3 separate regions of the Homo sapiens genome follow, and regions 1 and 3 are each linked to region 2. Evidence: promoter capture Hi-C in 16 types of primary human blood cells and fetal thymus (Javierre and others, 2016). All regions are on one chromosome and are shown on one strand. The core of a region is centred on a gene start or on the middle of the fragment in contact, and the rest is flanking DNA. Distances in the headings are between cores, read along the strand shown.

Evidence for each region. The method cuts DNA at HindIII sites, captures the fragments that hold promoters and counts their contacts. A CHiCAGO score of 5 or more calls a contact.
Region 1: a contact is called between a fragment that was not itself captured here and the fragment with the promoter of SPRR5 in region 2, in 1 of 17 cell types (erythroblasts). The highest score is 8.0, in erythroblasts.
Region 3: the fragment with the promoter of LCE2C here is called in contact with the fragment with the promoter of SPRR5 in region 2 in 5 of 17 cell types (M0 macrophages, total CD4 T cells, erythroblasts and 2 more); the score reaches 11.0 in M0 macrophages.

What each region holds. Positions count from the first base shown.
Region 1 is chr1:153,228,184-153,232,870 of GRCh38, forward strand. No RefSeq gene overlaps it. Among named protein-coding and RNA genes, the nearest start is that of PRR9, 13 kb to the left of the region's middle. The HindIII fragment of the contact is 1,275 bases long and covers 757-2,031 here.
Region 2 is chr1:152,945,296-152,949,640 of GRCh38, forward strand. It overlaps SPRR5 (small proline rich protein 5), which reads left to right and starts at 1,911. Exons shown (of 2, transcript NM_001395435.1): 1 at 1,911-1,953; 2 at 3,242-3,960. The coding sequence starts at 3,260. The coding sequence ends at 3,586. LINC01527 (long intergenic non-protein coding RNA 1527) reads right to left here and starts at 3,915. Exons shown (of 2, transcript NR_183723.1): 1 at 3,691-3,915. The HindIII fragment of the contact is 11,414 bases long and covers 1-4,345 here.
Region 3 is chr1:152,671,944-152,676,909 of GRCh38, forward strand. LCE2C (late cornified envelope 2C) reads left to right here and starts at 3,336. Exons shown (of 2, transcript NM_178429.5): 1 at 3,336-3,385; 2 at 4,052-4,626. The coding sequence starts at 4,073. The coding sequence ends at 4,405. The HindIII fragment of the contact is 8,836 bases long and covers 1,475-4,966 here.

The DNA.
Region 1 (4,687 bases), core at 144-2,643, 280 kb after region 2:
AAGTCTCTGTGCAGCAGCAGCCACCATTTCCAGAAGCAGCTGGGAAAGACTGAAGGAGGAACAGGTTTGGGTGCAGTCCAGGTAAGAAGACCAGGGGCTCAGTTTTGAACCTGTCAATTTTGAGACGCATACAGAATAACCAAGCAGAAATACAAAGTAAGCACTTACATCTATGAGTCAGGAGCGCGGGAAAAATTCAGGAATGGAGATCTACACTTGGGAGCCATCATCGTAGGGGTAGCATTCTAGCTTTGGGGTGTATAGATCATCCAGTGACAGAATATAGATTAAGAAAAGAAGGGAACTTAAGACCATGCCCTGAGAAACCTCAACAGCTAAAGGTTGAGAAGAGAGAGAGCCCTTGGCAAAAGATTAAGAAGGAGTCAATGATTTAAGAGAAAAGTCAGGAAGGAGAGAGTGTGCAAAATGCTGAATGCCACTGAGGATCAGGAAGTGCCCACACTGAGTGACAACATGGAGAGCAGGCATGGGGGTGGGAGGGTCCAGCCAGGCTGGTCACCCAGGGATTGCTCAAATACTGGAACCTCTTCCCACTCACTTCTCTTCTTCTAAGGCACAGTGGTTTGCCATTAGATCCTGGTACATGGGAATAAGTGAGTGAATGAATGATAAATGATCTGAGGACCCAAAAGGTTTAACAGCTTGACCAAGATTATCCGGCCAGTAAGTATCAATGCCAGAGCTGAAACCCAGCTCATCTGATTCCAATGCCCATATTCTTGGTTTAAAAATACAAGCTTTAACCCAGGGGAAATACCTTTGATGACACACTCTCTGTCATGTTTAATATCATACTTTAAGGACTATTATACTTATCTCTAAAACTGAATCTATGGCTTAGGAGTTCATCAAAAACTAGGGTAGGGAGTGAGAGGCATCCCCTAAGGTCGCCTATCCAGGGGATAATGCATGAAGGAATAACCTTTACACTAAATGAATGTATAGTTTGGGTTACATCCTTGAGACCCTGTCTCAACTGACGAGCATGTGAGAGTCTGGCCACTCGCCCTGTAGGGCCAGCTCAGAGGGGAGCTTGGTGTTCTGGAGTTGTCGGTCAGGGGTGATGGTGGTGACTGTGGTATCGTGGGGGCCACCACCGCCATTCATGGTTGAAAGAAAAGAGGTGGTCAGCTGGCAGGGCCTTCTCAACTCAACCTCCCTCATCACCCGGTTCCCAAGCCAGCCTCATAACCAGTCCTCCCTCCTTTAGAAGCCGCTGGGGACCCCTTTTCTCTTCTCTTCCCAACAGCACCACCTGCTGGCCATAGAGGCACTTGGCCTTCTACTAATCACACCCAGTCTGGCCTGAGTTGGAGATGGCCGCACACACTCGGGTCCAGTCAATGCTCCATGTGGAGAAGACAAGAGTACAGAGATGCAGCATCTAACAGAGTCAGAGGAAGGCTATATGTGCAAGACAGAGTTACATTACTTATAGGGTGGGAGCAACACGAATAATGGTTCAGGACATAGGCTCAGGAATCAGACTTCTGGAATTCAAATCTAGACTCCACCACTTCTATTGTTCCCTTAAAACAAATTTCTCCTATGTGAGAGTAAGTGACACAGAATCTCCTATGAGCCAAGCACTGGAGTTACAGCAGCGAACCAGATACACAGAATCCCTGCCTCCCAGAGCTCACATGAGGAGGAAGACAGACAAAAAGCAACTCAGCAAATGCATAAATAAGAAATTGAAGAAAATGAAACAAAATGACCAGGGAAGAGGGGTGCTCTTTAGCTCGGGTAATGTGGAAAGGCCGATCTGAGGTGAGAGCAACAGAAATGATGGGTTACATGATGGTGGCAATGGCAGCGTGCTGGAGGTGAGAGGAAATCTGAGGGAACATTTTCTTGAATGTGAATTGACTGACAAAAGTGTCACTGAACACATTACCTTTGATTCCTAAATAGCCAGAATGACAAAGCCTATCTGTAGATTACTCATTGTGTTCTCATTCATTTATTTTTTCATTCAACAAATCTTTGTTGAGTAGCTACTGTATGCCAAGCTTTCCTTTAGGTGCTGGAGATGTAGCAGTAAACAGACCAAAAGTGCTGTTTTTGTGGAGTTTACACTTAGAGGACACCAAAAGCTCATTTATCCATTCACTGAGCTCCTGCTGAGCACCTAATGCCAAGCATGATGCCAGACACTGATGGGTCCCAGACCCTAAACAATAGGGCTATCTTGGGGTGGGCACATTGTGGCCAGGGTGAATATGCACCTGCATCTGTTTAGGTTTGTTCACAGGCATAAACACACACCTGCCTGAGCATGTATCCCATCAAACCTCAGACAACATGTATATACTGTTCAGATGTTTTTCAAAATGCATCGGGAAGACCCCGAAGGGGTCTCAGTAGAGGCTTTTTATTTGATTCAAAGCTTCAAAAGATTATTCCATCTGCAAAATGTATAAAGGCTGGATGTTGGAGGAAGCATGAAATAGGGAGAGGAAGGACCTGCTACTAGAGTTATGGCTAAAGGTGGTAGATGGCAGCAGTGGAGACAAAGACAAGAGGGTGACGCTAAGTGTTTTGGAGGAATAACTAACAGGAGTAGCAGGGGGACTCAATGTGTGGGGTAAAGGAGGAGAAAGAAGGCAGAAATACTCCCAAGTTTATGGCTTAGGCCACTAGGTGGATGCAGAGAGGTGAGGACTAGGAGATATGTGGGTACATGTCTGAAGCTCAGAGATATCTGGGCCAAAAATGTACATATTTGAGAGCTGTCATCACATAGAAGGTATTTAAAGATATGTGAGTGGCTGAGATCACCCAAGGAGAAGAAGAGAGGGCCCTACCGAGCTGAGGACTCCACAAGATCTCAAGGTTGGACAGCGCAGAAGGAGCCTGTACAGCCAGCTGACAAAGAGCGGTCAGTGAAGGAAGAGAAACTAGGAGGGTGGAGACTGGAAAGACAAGAGAAGACAGGTGTCCAAGAAAGGAAGGAAAATCAATGGAGTCAACCAATACTAACTGGTCAAGAAATGCAGAGTGGCTGGTGACCTTGATGAGGACAGCCTGAGTGGGGACACAGAGGCCAGAACAGAACAGAGTGGACTGAGGAGCAAAGGGAGGTACCAAGCAGGGCAGTCTGTGGGGTTCCTGGATGCAGCTGGATTGGTTTGCTGCTCAAAGAAAATCCCAGCTCAGACCTACTCTAGGACAGAAGAGGCCTTCATGAAAGATGCCTGGCTGCAGGTGTCCAGGTGTGGGAAGGTGAGTGGGAGGAGGCAGGACTGAGCAGCACTTCCCCAAACCAGGAGGGAAGCCAACACCGAAGCCCAGGCTTCCATTTATAGAGTTTCCACAAGTGGACCCGGACTACTCCACCCTGTTCACAAAGCAACCTCGCCTGAACCTTTGACACCAGAGGCTGAGTCAGGCCCAGATGGCAAACACACTTTAAGCCCTAATCAGACTTTGCATGGGTTTACTCAGCCCATGCCTGCTTCTCTGCCCCTACCATGTCCTCCTAGAAGAGGGAGCACCTCTTCCCCGTCACCCCCCAGAGACTCACCTGCATGAGGTTCACACACTGCACTCTCTCACACCATATACCACACACACACACGCACACACATACATACACAAAGTCAGTGTGATGATTCCAGATGCTGGAACCATGCCTCCCCTTGCCCTTTGCCAAATGCCTGCCATGCTGGCCACAGAGGCAGAAGGAAAATGACAATTCTGCCCTTTTGTAATGCATGCTACTATTTTTGTCCATCACAGGTTCCTCAATTTGAGGCCTAAGTGTTCCTAGACTTCATCCGGTGTTGGAGGAAGCCCTTGCTGCCAGGGAAGCCCCAGTGTGAAGACAGGACATAGCAAACCTCAGGGAGACCCCGGGATGAGGAAGAAGACAGCCCCACCCTCTGGAGCCTGCAGAGGGAATGCAGTGGAGAGACACAGTCCTGGCCTTAAGGTTATCCCCAGTTTGAGGAGAAAGAAAAGGTCCCTGGCCTCAGAAGATCCCCAGTGCTAATGTCCCCACAAAGTGTGAGGGTCTCCATCGTACGCATCTCTGTCCTCACCCTCTCCGGACTTGGATTTTTTAAAGATATAGTACAAAATACAAAATGAAAATCACATCCAACTTACTCACCTTTAAAGAGCCCTGATCAAAATATGACAAGTGTGTTTCTCCAGTCATATGTTGAGTACTCACCTGAAGTCTAACCCAGGCTGGAGTTAAAACATCGACTCTGACACTCCAGTCTTTATATCATCATATCTACCACCAACACATCACCCACGTTTACCTTGACCCAGTTTCAAATATGAGAATTTTAGATTCAGAGGCAGAGCAGGGGTCAAGAACTGGCGTAGAGCCAGGCTCCTCAGAATGTGGCCTGTCCCTGTTCACACGGCCCAGGCAAAGCCTCACCAGGGAACCATGCTCCAGCTCCCTGCCCCACTCCAATCCTGCAGACCCCAGGTGACATTCCTGAGGCCACACAGCCTGAGTAATGACACAGCTTAGTGGAGCTGACTCATGGAAAGAGTTGCCCCATGTGCATTTGGAGGACAAGGACAGTTGTGCAAGGTGTTTGTGACAGGCCATGAGGAGGGGCAGGACGTGAGGCAGCAAGAAGTACCAGTTGGTAATTGTCATTACTTCTACTAGAATCTCCAGGTGACAAATCTACCTCAGTGC
Region 2 (4,345 bases), core at 661-3,160:
ACAACTCCACATAGTCTTTCTTCTCTGCTATTAGGGACCTGAGCTGAAATCCCTCTCTCAGGCTTTCTGGGGCTGCTTCTGTCTGAGTGATACCAGCTTGAAGGGATTCTCCTCCTGGGAAGGGCTGGACTCCTCTGGCCCTCCTTAGTTACTAGCCCGTGCACATCTTGTGATCCCAGAGAGTCAGGACCATGGTTTAAGAGAGAGAACATCGGTTTCCACACCTGTGTCTTCTAGTGATGCAGCATGACTCCCCAAGGTCTTGGGATGTTCTAAGGCTTTTATTAAATAGTGGAACCATGGCTAAATTTCATGGCTGAGATTTAAAATGTGCCATCTTCAGGACTAGCTTGCCTATTTCCATTTCTCTCACTCAAAAGTCTTTTTTAATGTATTTTTAGGGGAAAAGTAAAAATTATATATATGTACAGTGTACAATGTGATGTTTTGATATATGAATATATTGTGGGATGACTAAATCAAGCTATTTAATACATGTATTACCTCACATATGTATCATTTTTGTGTGGCGAAAACACTTAAAATCTACTCATTTAGCAATTTTCATGTCACATATTGTTATTAACTATAGTCAACATGACTTCCAGTGGATTCCTTGAACTTATTCCTCCTGTCTCTTTCAACCAAGAGCTTATGACACTGGGTGGCAAGTGCCACTACTTGCCTCCAACTTTTTTCAACTTCCTATTCCATATTTCTAAGAGTGTGTCTTGCCCTAGTATTCAAAGCCCATCTCCATGGAGCACCCAACGACTGTTGACCATGCATTTTGTGCCAAACACTTGCACATACTTTAAATAAGTTGTCCATTTTAATCCTTACAACTGACATGCAGAATGGTGCTGTTACCCTCTTTAGCAGGTGAGAAAATTGAAGTGCAAAAACATCTGGTTCCTAAGGTCACCCAACTGGTAAAAGGCAGAGCCTCAGTCTGAGCACCACTTGGGAATTTTTTAAAGATGAGCTCCATCCTTTGCCAGGTATGGGAAGCATCCAAGTCTGTATCCCGTGCCACCCTTCTTTGTCCTGGAACTTCTAACAGAAGTTAGGAGGAAGAGCCAGGACTGGGGCCCCAGGAGCTCAGAACCCAGAATCCAGTCACTGTGACTCCTCCATGAGCTCACTCTAATGCAATGCTTCTTAGCTTCCCCCACCCCCTCCACCTTATGATAATCATTTCCCTGGGAACCCTGGAGTCATATGGATATGTGATATATGTAGGGAGATTTAGAGATAAGCACTATCTACTGTAACCAACCAGTTTCCCCGAATGGGGCCTAACGATTTTCCCAATAGCAGAACAGACAGAGAGTGGCAGCTGCCATTTCTTGTATAAATAACAATAGGTAAAAAATGAAAGCCTCTTGTCTTGTCTTCCCACCAGTTCAAGCTGAATGTGACTCTGAGCCTAGGTCAAGTCAAAGTCACAACTTTGCTGAGGGTGGTGGGTTTCCAAGAGAGCCATCTGCCCCCTCAGCTGTTTTCTTATGTTACCTGCATAAGCTGCCTGTCCCATCCCCTCCTCTCTGCCAACCAGAACATCCCAGAACACTGCCCTCACACCCCCACACCCAGCATGGTCGGAATGCTTGCTTGGGACCATCCTAGATGCCAGGGATCTAAGTCAAAAGTCATGAGTGGGTTTGGAAATCCAAGGAAGCCAGTCCTCGTAAAATGATGGGGAGATGAGGCAAGGGGAGGGTGAAGGCACTGTCATCTCCAAATCCCGCCATACCAGCCCTGGGGGTGAGTAAAACTTAAAATTTGAGGAAGGACAGGTGGATCCTATTGTGACTAGGGACTAATTAGGACACCCCAATCCTGGGCCACCTCATGGCCTCAGGCAGGGATGAGAGGTATATAAAAGGTAGATAGGCTCAGAGCATCCCAAACCCCTCCACACCTATCTGCTCCAGTCGCTGGTGAACCTTGGTAAGTCTGGAAAGGTAGTACCTCTTATAGCAGCCTTGCCTTGCCTGCATCCCTAACCAACTATGGACTGGGCTGATTCTCTGGGTGGTGGTCAGAAAGGATGGGTCTTTTGGGGTACCTCTTTTTTCCATATCATTTGTGACAAACCTATCTTGGGTCCAGCAAGTTATCCAGCAGAGTAGTGTGGGAGGCTGGGCTGAGCAGGGAGAAGGAGGGGGGTATCTACAAGAGGGTCAGTATCTCAGCGATGCTGCTGGCATGGTGTGGGTGTTGCATCTTGTCAGGTGCTAAGAGGGAATTAGTAGGAGAGGAGAGACCAGTTCTGGGCAGAGCAACTGGAAGGACTGTCCTTTCAAAGAAAAGAGAAGGCAGGAAGGAAAGAGAACAGACTCCCTTGGGACAGCAGAGTTGTGGATGTCCATGGAGCAAAGGGCTGCAGGGACAAGACGATGTGGCACCATGGAAGGCTCTGCTCTGGGAATCAGGAGACCTCTTTTCCCACCATCTATGCCGAGTGGCTTTGAAGCCATTCCTTCCCTCTGAGGTTTGCTTTCCTCAACTGTAATTGAGAGAGGCAAGCTAGATAGTCCATTTCATCTATCTCTAGAGTTTTCTCTTTATAAACTCCTTTAGAGAGTGGTTAAGATGCGCCTTTTAAATTGTTTATGAATTTACTTAACAAATTACAACTCTTATATAGTGTTCATTTTGTGCTACTACTCTGCATGTGTGTGTCGGTACATACATACCTACGTATGCATGCATATTTTAAGTATGTATTTTATATACTCATTTAATTTTTGCACCAACTCTAAGAGAGGTAAGTATGGAAAACCTTAGTTGCTCAAAATCATATAGTTAATAAATGATTTAGCCAGAACTCAGATCCCAGGCAATTTATTCCAGATGCCACAGGTTTTGCTATAATAGGATACAACAGTCTGCTCTTTCATTCTTCCTCTTTTTTTTCCTCTCTCTCCCTTTTCTTTTTTTATGTTTTTCTTTCTTTTCAACCCCTCCTAACATTTCTGTTTTCCCTCCCTTCCTCCTTTCCTATCTTTCCTTCCTTCCATGTTTCTTTGTCTTGAAAAGAGTTGAAATAACTTGTAAACACTTAAAGTTTACACATGCGCGCGCGCACACACACACACACACTCCTCTTAAATCTGTGAAGGGATCAGGGCAAGGTAAAAGCAGAGCAGGACAGGAATGTGGCAGGGGGTTCACCTGGGCTTAGGGTCTCTCTATGGCTCAAGTGTTCCTCATTTCTGTGTCTTTCTGTTTCCAGTTGCAAGTCCAGCCCAGAATGTCTCAGCAGAAGCAGAAGCAGTGTGCTCCCCCGCAGCAGTGCTGCCCCCCACCCCAGCAGCGCTGCCCCCCACCCCAGCAGTGCTGCCCCCCGCCTCAACAGTGCTGCCCCCCACCCCAGCAGTGCTGCCCGCCGCCTCAACAATGCTGCCCCCCTCCCCAGCAGTGCTGTCCCCCACCCCAGCAGTGCTGCCCTCCACCTCAGCAGTACTGCCCCCCACCCCAACAGACCAAGCAGCCTTGCCAGCCCCCACCCAAGTGCCAGGAGCCCTGTGCCCCCAAGTGCCCACCCCCTCAGCAGTGCCAGACGTCCAAGCAGAAGTAAGCCCTGGGCATGTGATCAGAGGCGAACCCCCAGGAAAAACAGAGCATGAAGTTCCTTCTGGGCCAGCATCTTACACTCCACAGGCCAAGCAAAGCCCTGCTCACCAGTGCTTCTGGATGCAGCCACACTTCACACTTGCAGGAGAGGCAGCACCAGGCTGGCAGCTGGCGGCTTCCTCGAGCTCTACTCTTCTTAATTAGCAGCTGCAGTTTCCATCTCAGACAAGGATCTGGTTCTAAACTATCTAATCATCTTTCCTGACATGCATCTACATTGCCCTGCTGGAAACATGAGCGGCATGCACAGGCATCTTCTCCTACCACGCTTCCCCTCAGCTCCTGTTTTCAAACAATTAAAACAGAATTCCTCTGGCATGAATGTCTTGGTCTGATGATTTTGTTGTTTGAAAATGTAGCATTTCTGCAGTTTTTTTTTTTTTTTTTTTTTTTTGACGGAGTCTCGCTCTGTTGCCCAGGCTGGAGTGCAGTGGCGCGATCTCGGCTCACTGCTATCTCCGCCTCCCGGGTTCACGCCATTCTCCTGCCTCAGCCTCCCAAGTAGCTGGGACTACAGGCGCCCACCACCACGCCCAGCTAATTTTTTTGTATTTTTAGTAGAGACGGGGTTGCACTGTGTTAGCCGGGATGGTCTCGATCTCCTGACCTCGTGATCCGCCTGCCTCGGCCTCCCAAAGTGCTGGGATTACAGGCGTGAATCACCGCGCCCCACCGCATTTCTGCAGATTTTTTTATCCTGCCC
Region 3 (4,966 bases), core at 2,086-4,585, 270 kb before region 2:
CCCAGACACTGTAAAGCTAGATTTAAATTATAGAAGATTTGTAAGTTGAAAATTATTTTGTGTGCTCTAGAAAATTTAACCTAATGGTTTCATTGCCTTTGAAAACTTTAACCAGTTTTGTATCTAAATTTGCAATCTTGTTCCAGAATTTTTTTGGTCTCTCCTATTCTTTGAACCAGCATTACCATCATGCTGATTCTCTTATTAACAAGTGAAACAAATCTTTATAATATGCCTGCTATATATTTATATGAGTCATGCTTTTAACTTTTTGGAAATTACAATTCAATAAACCCTTATCTCCACACATACCCTTTCAGGAGTGGAAACTGGGCCAAAATCAGACAGTGCCAGACAGTGTTGACAAGAAGATGAAAAGGACTACAAAGATATAGTAAACGGAAAATTTGGATTAGTGAATCTACTAAATAAGATGAGATACATCAAGGGACATGGTAAGGCTTTTTCTTGTACTGTGGCTAAAATAAAGTTCCAGCATTTGGTGGGGGATAATTTTCTGGAATATACGGAGTTTAAGTTCCCAGGGAGACAATTCAAGGAGCTACTTGGAAATATCAGCTTTCAGGAGACTGACTTTCCAGATGAGGTGAACTTCAGATGAAATGTCTGGAATCAATCCCAGGCCATTCTTTTCATGTCACCTGTGTACTTGTTCATGTGGTCCTGCAATCATGCATTGATTCTGCCAACACTCATGAGACAATTAAGTGTTTGGCTGGTCCCTGAGGGAACATGCACAATGTGACATGGGGTCTTCTGGCTCAGAGGGATCACCTATGATGATGTGAGGGCTGTGGAGACAGAAGCAAGAATACTTGCAGGCAGGTGTTTCTTCACTGACTTGTGAACTAATTATCAACATTTTCTGAGATATAAAGGGACAAAGGGGACATGTTAAACAGCTGCTTATCTCCCAGTTCTGGTTTCCCAGGGGATCGGGTCCCATTAATTCTTCCATCGCTTATTCAACCACTCAATACAGACGCTCATGTATGTGCATGTTCATTTTACCTGAATTTTTGTATAAATACAACATACACACATACAGAGCACACACCCACATACACACACACACAGACACAGACTTGCCTCCCCTACTTCCTCACTTACCACATTGTTACAAATATCTTTGTCAAAGAGTATGAGGAAGCTGAGGGTGATATCACCATGAAGACAGTGGAATGAACTAACATGTTCTAATCACACTGGGAAATAGTGACTCAGGAGGTTCAGGCCCCAAACGTCATCTTCTTTGGACCTATGTTTGTCTGCAGTCATCTTCAAAAAGGCTACAAAAATTCTACAGTCCTTGAGGTCATGGGCTACTTATTATTCACCTCTATATCCCTATATTTGGACATACATGATTCAAGAACGTTGTAGGCTTTCAAAGAATGCCTTTTGAATTCACTGCTCTGACCACACTGTTGACTTACTTTATCCTTCAGGTAAAAGCTTCCTGAGAGCAGGAATCAGATCTGATAATAGGATTGCATAACTAGGAGAACAGAATCCCTCAGTTAGAAGCTGACAATGGGAAACTATGCTTTCTCCGCATCCTCCCCTCCCCCACTAAGTAGGCATTAGGCAATGTGAAGGCACAGTCTGTTTCTGTTTTAATCAGAGGTGTGAATATCTATTTTTTTCAATTCTAATTTTTAACACCTTTATTGAGATGTAATTAACATATTTGTAGTTCATTTGTTTAAAGTGTAAATTCAATGGTTTTCAGTATATTCACAGAGTTGGACAATCACCACCATAATTTTAGAACATTTTCATTACTTCACAAAGAAAACCTGTATCCATTGGCAGTAACTTCTCAATATCTCCCAGCCCGCTAAAGCACCTGGAAGCCACTGATATTTCTCAGAGGACAGGCATAAACATAAAAGGAGATACAGGGAACAGAATCTCATCCAGGCTCTTGTTCCTCGGATGCCCTGAGTCAGCTCTTCAGGGGTCCAGCCTGGGAGAGGCTGTAACTGGCTAAAGCCTCATCCCCTTTCTATTTCCAGAGATTTGCCTACTCTACACATTTCATATAAATAACATCATACAATATGCAGTCTTTTGTGACTGGCTTCTTTCACGTAGTGTAATGTTTTCAAGGTTCACACTCAATGTATCTGTTTAAACTAAATGAATAAATGACTGGGTAACTCTGTCTAGTGCAACCCTGAATCAGAACTCTGAATAACTAGATTCCTGGCTGACCCTCTACTTCCTGGTAGGAAAGGAGTTCCCTCTGCATAGGAGCCCCAAGAAATGATGTCTACTTCCCAAGACAGGTTTCAAATAATCTAAGTGTCTGGTGGAGTTAAGCTCTCTGAGGGTAAGGGCTCTATATGGGCAATTAATGACACATAAGACCGGGGCAAGTATCCAATACATGGCATTAGTTTTTCTATTAAACATATATTTATTAAGGGTCTATCAGGCACAAAATGTCATACTTAGCTCTTTCTTGCTTCTCACTTTATATTACAAACAGCTCAGTGAGATAGGTATATCTCACTGATAGGTTTATAATGGGCATTATATGTGAGAACTGATACTCACAGTGAGTATCATAGTAATACTCTAGCAATTATTGATAATTGTTACAGCAACTTTCAGAGATTACCCAGTTATCATATGCAAGTTTTCTGATTCCAGTAGCACATTCAATACAAGTCCTCTGACTGAAGGAAATGTTTAGATTTTAGAGGGAATTGTTTATTCTCAATCATTCTCCTTGCTTTAGGTGACAGAATCAACTCAGATTTAATCCACCGAATCTGCTTGCCATGGTGAGTCGGAGGAAAAGCAGAAACACAGAGGCCAGGAGGAAGGGCTGAGAGCCTAGGCAAGGGAGGGATGCCTAGAAAAAGCCAAGGCTGTAGAAGCCCTCTGGGATGGCTGGATCCACAGCAGGACATGGAAGAGAAACTGCTCAGGGTGGAGGGAGTCATAATGGAACATTTCCACAAGGTCAGGGAAAGCTGTGGCTCAGAACTGATGTTTCCTCAGAGGACATGCATTAAAAAAATGCAGGGAACAGAATCTTGTCCAGGTGTGGGTCCCTTGGGTACCCTAAGTTAACTCTTTAGGGTTCCCACCTGGTGGAGGCTCTGACTGGCTACAGCCTCTCTAGACTGCAGCCCCAGAGAGGAGTCCTGGAAGCTCCTGAGGCCTCTTTGGATTGCAGGGACTAAGAGGCAGGAGAATGTCAGGAATGACCCAGCGTGTGCCTGGTTGTGCAAGAGCCACCTCCTGCTCTTTCCAGAGCCAAGCCTGGGCCCTATAAAAGACACATCCAGCTTCAGCATCTCATCTGCTCTGACTCCCCAGGGACGTGTCTGTGCTCCTGCGTGTGACCAGGGTGAGTGGCAACCTGGGATACCAGAGGGGTATGAGCAAGGCAGAGGGATGGGGAGGATGGAGGTAGGCTGGAGAAAGAGTTGTGTGCTTGTGTTCTGCCATACTGAGCAGGAATGGGACTCAGCCTGCCTCGAATCTGTTGAGGCTCTGAGGCCTACCGGAGCTCATATAGGTGGGGAAAGCTAACTGTGCACATCTTTTCCAATTCTGTGTTCAGTGACTTCATGTTGGTAACTTCAAAACTGCTGTGTTGGGCATATTTACACCATGGAAACTGGCAAATACTTCAAGCCAGGCTCTTTTATCTGGAGGTTTCATTGCAAAATATTTTCCAGAGGACCCCTTGGTATGTCCTGCAACACCCAGCTTGTCCTTAGGGCTTGTATTAAAGGAATAGGTACTTCAGGGAGCTGTGAATACTCTATTCGGGCTTGTGAGGATAGAGCAATCGCAGTTTCCCCTGAAAGGAAGAGTAAGAAGCTCATTCTGTTGATTTTTTATCTACGTACTTTTATCTAGAGGAAAGATTCAAGTTGTTTCTTTCAGGTTACTGATGTGATTGTATTATCTAAATATCATTCTTCTTCTACACATGCATTGATTTTAGAAGAGGTATAATATGATCCTTGGTTTGAAATATTTAAAGAGTTTCATTATTATCTTTCAGGTTGACTAAACTCCTGCCAGCATGTCTTGCCAGCAAAACCAGCAGCAGTGCCAGCCCCCTCCCAAGTGTCCTCCCAAGTGTACCCCAAAATGTCCACCTAAGTGTCCCCCCAAATGCCCACCACAGTGCCCAGCTCCATGTTTCCCTGCAGTCTCTTCTTGCTGTGGTCCCAGCTCTGGGAGCTGCTGTGGTCCCAGCTCTGGGGGCTGCTGCAGCTCTGGGGCTGGTGGCTGCTCCCTGAGCCACCACAGGCCCCGTCTCTTCCACCGGCGCCGGCACCAGAGCCCCGACTGCTGTGAGAGTGAACCTTCTGGGGGCTCTGGCTGCTGCCACAGCTCTGGGGGCTGCTGCTGACCTGGGCTACAGAAGAGCTCTTGGGACTGAATGGCCAAGAACCTGCTACGGCCTGATGGATACTCTTTCCACTTCCTCTCATTCCATTCATTGGTTGGCAGAGACCACAAAGACTCATGGGGCTTTCCTGGAAGAACTTCGTGCTTGATGTAACACCCCAATTGCAAGTCTTCTTTTCCTCCTTTACCTCATGTTATAATAAAGCTCTGATCTCTGACTCACTAAATGTCTTGGTCATTCTCTTCTCTTCTGAGATTTCAAATGTCCTCCAAAGGTCAGGGCCTCAGAGTAATTTTCTTCATGAGGCTAGGACAGGACATGAGTAGGTGATACATGAAAAGCTGCTCTGAGGAACTGATTCCCCCAGATGCTGAGTGAATGGAGCTCCAAGAGGGTCACCTCTGGCTATGGTAGCTTTGCCTTTCTCTCCACTAAGCCAGACACATGTTCTAATTTTCTGTGTAATCCAGACGTTGGGAAGGTTGGGAAGCTCTGCAGACTTGTTCTTCTCTAGGGAGAAGAACACATCCCTATGAAGCAAAACTTTCCTGCCCTTAGAAT